2 separate regions of the Homo sapiens genome follow, and region 2 is linked to region 1. The links are contacts of gene promoters, found by promoter capture Hi-C in blood cells and fetal thymus (Javierre and others, 2016). All regions are on one chromosome and are shown on one strand. Each heading gives the region's core, a stretch centred on a gene start or on the middle of the fragment in contact. The rest is flanking DNA. Distances are from core to core; before and after follow the strand shown. Region 1 has its middle 21 kb from the start of MON1B. Region 2 holds the start of CHST6 (carbohydrate sulfotransferase 6).

The links. Contacts are between HindIII fragments. The CHiCAGO score rates a contact against its expected background, and 5 or more counts as called.
Region 2: the fragment with the promoter of CHST6 here is called in contact with a fragment that was not itself captured in region 1 in 1 of 17 cell types (total CD8 T cells); the score reaches 5.1 in total CD8 T cells.

What each region holds. Positions count from the first base shown.
Region 1 is chr16:77,169,065-77,172,199 of GRCh38, reverse strand. No RefSeq gene overlaps it. Among named protein-coding and RNA genes, the nearest start is that of MON1B, 21 kb to the left of the region's middle. The HindIII fragment of the contact is 2,338 bases long and covers 512-2,849 here.
Region 2 is chr16:75,493,859-75,496,993 of GRCh38, reverse strand. CHST6 (carbohydrate sulfotransferase 6) reads left to right here and starts at 1,553. Exons shown (of 3, transcript NM_021615.5): 1 at 1,553-2,054. RefSeq lists a silencer at 1,350-1,679 and an enhancer at 1,980-2,159. The HindIII fragment of the contact is 1,836 bases long and covers 214-2,049 here.

The DNA.
Region 1 (3,135 bases), core at 431-2,930:
GAAAAGAGACTTAGCTGGCAGCCACCCAGAGAATCAGTGGCTCAGCTAGTGCTATTCTAACAACTTATCCTAGCTTTGTGCCTCCCTGAGGACTAGGACCTTTGCTTTTATTCCAATTTCAGAGGCAATTTTAGGGGAACTCCCTGAAAAGTGTAAACTGAAAAAGATGCCTGGGAGCCTGGGAGTTTCCTATGTAGTGCTCTAGGTGGGAAACCTTTGCTCACATAAAGATGACTGTCTTTATCAAAGGTGGCCACTAGATGGCAGAAAAAACCCATGTACCTGATATGGAAGCATATGTTCCAAAGATTTTGAGACTTGAGTATTTCTGAGACCAGCTCATCTGCCTGGTGAATATAGAAAATTAGGGATCATTGTGATATCAGTCCACCCCCATGTAAATCCCCCAAATCTGTACCTCTCTCCAGAGTCCTGTGGTTAATCTCATCCTTCTCGTCATTAAAACCCATAAAGGAAACAATTTACTTTGAAAACTATTTTATAAAAAGCTTGAATGACTATTAAGTAGCATTTTATGGTTTCTACTAGGATTTTCTGCATAACAATAGAAATTATTTGACAACTCAAAGTGTGAATGAATCTCTGGTGGCCAGAGTGGTGTATGAAATAATTTTGGATAAGGGAGAATTCATCTGCCTCTGAAATCAAGTCAATGGGGAAAGCCAGGTACTTCCAGTAATAAAAAGAGCTGATATTTACTCAGCACTTTACCATGTGCCAGGCACTGTGCTAAGCACTTTATAGAATAAATTTATTTAATCATCACAATAATTATATGATGCAATGCTCAGTAAATCTGTTTTACAGAAAAGTACACAGATCTCCACAGAGTTCACGTAACTTGCTCAAGGTCATATGGTTAGAAAAATGCTCGTGGCTATTTTCTTTTTATTTATTTATACTACATGGAATTAAAAATATGGTGCTTTGTGTTAGTATAATAAGGGTTTTATGAATTCAGATGAAAAGTAATTGCTCTCTTGACCCTGTGACACGTGTGCTAAAAACCTTCTCATTATTAGACCATTAGAAAGAGTAGATATGGTAAAAAATTTTAGCTGTGTTACAGTAACTGTGACCATAAATTAATGCTTAAGGAAACACTGTGACGATAGCTAGGACGATGTCAGCAGAATATTCTAAACCAGCACTATCCTGCTAGCTCCAGATCACGTGACCCTCTGTAGTGCCATGGGGTGGCTAAACCCATGTCCTAGGGGCTTCAAGGGATCCAAGGCTATCCTCCACCCCCTCCACAGGCAAAACATCACCCACATTCTTCCAATCTGATGTCTTTTTCTGCTGGCATAACTTGATGTTCAAGAGCTTCCTGCAGCAGCTCAGCATCCCTGGGGAGGAATGAGCTTTGTCAGTGCTGGGATGTCTGTGTCAGGGTCCTGTGCCCAGAGAACAGCCTCCCCACTCACTGGCCCATCTCCTAAAACCCACTATGGTGGTCAGGATTCTTGGTTGAAAGTAGGAGAAACCAATCCCAGTCATCTCGTTGAAAAAGTGGCTATGAAATCAGTTAAAGTTAAGTCATGGCGGGCATGATGGAAAATGGCTGAACTCCAGGAAAAATGGAAGCAGAAACTGGAAAGAAAGATTCTGAAAACTCTTTTTCTCTGACACCCAACCCCTGCCTATACTTCTCTCCATGCATCATTATTCTTGTTTCTTTGCCCACAACTTTTCCTGCTTCTTAGTAAAATTCCTGGCCATCCACAGCTCTAAAAATTCCCAGCCATCCACAGCTCTAAAAATTCCCATTAGGTATTCTGCCACACAAGAAAATCTGACTTGGCCCCCATTCCAGGTTCCTCAGGAAAATATATTGCTAGGCTTAGTTCTGGGGCAATGTTATGCAAAGACCTTAATTTTTCTTTATCTCAGGCCATGCATGATTTAGAAGTTTTTTGTTTTGTTTTTCTGTTGTAATGGGGCTGTTCTTGCTTTCTTTAGATAAGGCTGTATCAGCTCTTTATAACCTGCTAATTTCAAGGGACTTAATACGTTGGCTGTAATTCACATTTTCAAAATTGGGAAAAGCTGTGTCTTTTGAGATAGAAGTGTTCTTTTTCTTTTAATTCCTGTTTTGCTTTATTTTTTTTCCTCCCCAAATATTGGCATACTATTTTTTCAGGTGTCACATAGCTCTTTGACAACAGAGATTACTCAGTTTTTTTTAAATGAACATTATCTCCAGCTTCTCAGCTGCGAGAAGTTTTTTAGTTTTGCAATTTTTAGGGGTGCTGAGAGCCTCCTACCCGATGTGCCCTCAGTCTGAATCACTGATGCTCTCCTGGGTACTAGGGATTCTTGATTCTGTACTGCAGGGGGCGCTAGCACTCCTCCTTTCTCTAAGCCTGTGAGCAGGTAAATCTGCTGGTGAAACTGACAAGTGGTCACCATATATATTTGGCCTCAGCTACGTGTTTTTACTGCCCTTTCTTCCTTGTATGCCCACCCAAGCATGATGGGAGGTTGACCTGTGACACTTGTCTGGTGTCCTGGTAATTGATAAACGGAACCCAGAAGCAGGTATCAGAGACCAAACGACTAGGGTCAAACCCTAGACCCCTAGAGAAGTCTCCAAGTTCTCTGTGCTGCCTCAATCATCATCCAATTCTTATTTCCTGCCAAGCCTATATGAACAGAAGATTAGAAAGAAGGATCAGGGTGTGATGTGGCTCTTCCCACTGTGAAAAGCCCATACTTCAACCTTTTAGAGATTTTCCAGGACCATCTTTTATGATGGATGAGTGCTTCAGAAGGACAGATAGGCAATCTCTTTTGCTGGCTGGATGTGTCTGCTTATATAGGAAGCTTGAAGAGTGGGAAAGAGAATTTGACATAGGCAGGAGGAAGGAAGGAAGACAGAGTGCTGTGGCAACCTGGTAATTTTGGAGGGACAAGGTCGTGAGTGTCTCATGAATCAAAAAGAGTCTACTGAACAATTAGGTGGTCTTGAGTATTTTGCTGGTTTTGTCTTATAAATATCATTAATTATTATAAACTCCCTTTCCCATACCATAAACAAAAATCAATTCCAGATGGGTTGTAAATGGATTTTCCAGATGGGTTTCTCACTGTGAGAGAGAAAACAATCGCGAT
Region 2 (3,135 bases), core at 304-2,803, 1.7 Mb after region 1:
AGAGAATCACTTGAACTCGAGAGGCGGAGGTTGCAGTGAGCCTAGATCCTGCCATTGCACTCCAGCCTGGGCTACAAAAGTGAGACTCCATCTGAAAAAAAAATCAGTATCAAAATCATGAACAACACTTATATGAACCCTGTACATAAATCCTTGTTTCTGGTTTATTTCCTTAAGATAGCTCCTAGAAAGGAATTACCAATCCGAAAAGCTTACGACCATTGTCAAGAATCTTAATTCATCTTGCCAAACCACAACCAGGAAGGACTGCTTATTTCTTCTCCCAGCAGCAGGGAGTTCTTGATTAAGATCCCATCACTAATTTGACAAGACCTAGAAATGCTTCATCCTTTTCAGGTGCCTGGGCTCTGCCCTGTTATTTGTAAAGGGGATTTTTTTTTTTTTTTTTTTTGAAACAGTTTCGCTCTGTCGCCCAGGCTGGAGTGCAGTGGTGCAATCTCAGCTCACTGCAACCTCCGCTTCCTGGGCTCAAGCAGTTCTCCTGCCTTAGCCTCCTGAGTAGCTAGGATTACAGGTGCCTGCCACCACGCCCGGCTAATTTTTGTATTTTTAGTAGAGACGGGGTTTCACCCTGTTGGCCAGGCTGGTCTCGAACTCCTGACCTCGTGATCCACCCACTACGGCCCCCCAAAGTGCTGGGATTACAGGCGTGAGACACCGCGCCTGGCCGGATTTTTTTTTTTTTTTTTTGCGAGGGAGTCTCGCTTTGTCGCCCAGGCTGGAGTGCAGTGGTGCGATCTCGGCTCACTGCAAGCTCCGCCTCCCGGGTTCACGCCATTCTCCTGCCTCAGCCTCCCGAGTAGCTGGGACTACAGGTGCCCGCCACCAGGCCTGGCTAATTTTTTTGTATTTTTAGTAGAGACGGGGTTTCACTGTGTTAGCCAGGATGATTTCGATCTCCTGACCTCGTGATCCGCCCGCCTCGGCCTCCCAAAGTGCTGGGATTACAGGCGTGAGCCACCGCGCCCAGCCCTGGCCGGAAATATCTTATTTATTGAAACGTATCATGTCTTTATCTGGACCTGCTATGAACCTGCGCCTCTGGGCCTAGGCTAGGGCAGGGAATGCGCAGGAGGAGGGGAAAAGCTGCGGACCCAGCTCCTAAGGCCACCTGGTCTCTCCGCTCTTCCCAGTTGGGACACTGCACCGGGTCCATGTGTCATCCAGGTGCCGTGGCCTTGGGAAGGGTTTGGATTCCAAGTCACCTCGCCGCAAGGATGCCCCCGAGAGTGAGGAGGGTCAAGATTAAGATTCGACTTCCTTCACTAGGGCCTTTGTCCTCCCAGGAGCCCCCCTTCTCTGGGGATTTGGGGTGGGGTGGGGTACAACGTTCCTCTGTAGTCAGATGAGAGGTGACTCTGCCAGCGCCCTTTGACATTCTGGGCTAAAAGTTGAGCCTCTCAGAGCCCCAGCCCACCTGGGCCCTCCTGCCCCGCCCTCGGCCGGCGCCCCTCCCCCGAGGCGTGGCCCCTCGGTCGGGGGTGGGCCAACCGGCTCCTTCCTTCCCCCACGGCGCTAGCTCCCGCTGGCCACCTCGGGACCGCAGCCACGTCTGAAAGCGCCTCATTGTGTGCGCTCGGGCGGGCTGCACCGGGCAGCGCCGAGGGTTGCCGGCCGGCGCGCGGGGAGTAGAGGGCGCGGGCCGCAGTGCCGGGTTCCAGAGGGAGCTCTGCGCCGGGTCCTTCCCTGTGGTAGCCCCAGGACACCCCCAGCCTCAACATCCCATTCTGGGACTCCTGCCCTGTTCCCACATTCGTTCTACCTCGAGTCTCCAGGAGCTTCCAGTGGCTTGGTCACCGCCAACTCTCGTCCATGCCTCTTAGAGCCCCTTTCCCGGCCTCACCGGGTGTCGCTTAATAGTCTTGGGACCTTAAGGAGCAAGTCAGCCCCTGCGGACCCTCCCAGTGAAGAGAAAGAGCTGGCTGTGCGGTGGAATTTGGAAGAGACGACGTTTGGGAGCCTTTGCTGAGTCCAGGGAGAGAGGCGTCCCCCACCGTGCCGCTGCAGCTCGGGCAGAGCCGCCAAGCTTTGGGGTACGTTGGTTCTTCATTCTCCGCGGGGGATGTCCCCACACTCGGGTCGGCTGGGGGCCGGGCTGGTGGCACAGCTGGGGACGCTCCTCTGTCCTGCACCGGGGACCTGGGGTGGCGGGAAGAGCTGGGAGTGGCTTTTCCATCAGCAACGTGGAAAGGGCATCGCCGCTGTTGGCGCCGGTTTGGAAGTGTCTTGCTGGGGCTTCGGCTGCGCAGGAGAATCCTCACTGCGAGGGGAGAACCCCTTTTGTCTCGATACTTGAGTTTCAAAGGACATGACTTTCAAAAGCTCTCCAAGGGCTTTTTCCATAGAATTATTGAGAGACGGTAGCTTGGCGGGTTGATTTGGAACCAGACCCAGGGGAATTGGAGTCCTGCGTCACTGCTTCTGACGGCTTCATCTTGGGCTTCAGGACAGGCCCTCTGGGCCTCAGGACAGGTGCCTAGCAAATGTTGACTTTCCTTTCTCCTCCCTTTTTCACAGAGGCAAGGCAGTCAAGTTTCCCATTTTTGAGGATGGGAAAACTGAGGCCTGAAGAGCAGAAAGGAGTTGGCTGACTTAAACCCACAAGCGAGTAGGCCAAGTACCAGGGCCTCTGAGGGTGCTATGCTGCTCCGGGAGCTGGGGCTGGGCTCCTCTCCAGCCTGAGAGGCCGGAACTTTTCTGGCTTTGTTCTACAAACAGAGTCAACTGGAGTATAGAGAGCCAGAGAGTGACTTGCTCTAAGTCACACCCCTCACTGGTAGTAGAGACAGGATTTGAACCCAATCCGGCTTCAGAAGCCAAGCTTCTAAGGCCAGTCGCAGTGGTTCACGCCTGTAATCCCAGCACTTTGGGAGGCCGAGGCAGGTGGATCACCTGAGGTCAGGAGTTCAAGACCAGCCTGGCCAACATGGTGAAACCCCATCTCTACTAAAAATACAAAAATAAGCTGGGCATGGTGGTGAGTGCCTGTAATCCCAGCTACTTGGGAGGCTGAGGCAGAAGAATCACTTGAACCCAGGAGGCGGAGGTTGCAGTGAGCTGAGATTGCGGTACTTCACTCCAGTCTGGACAACAGCGAGACTCCATCTCAGAAAA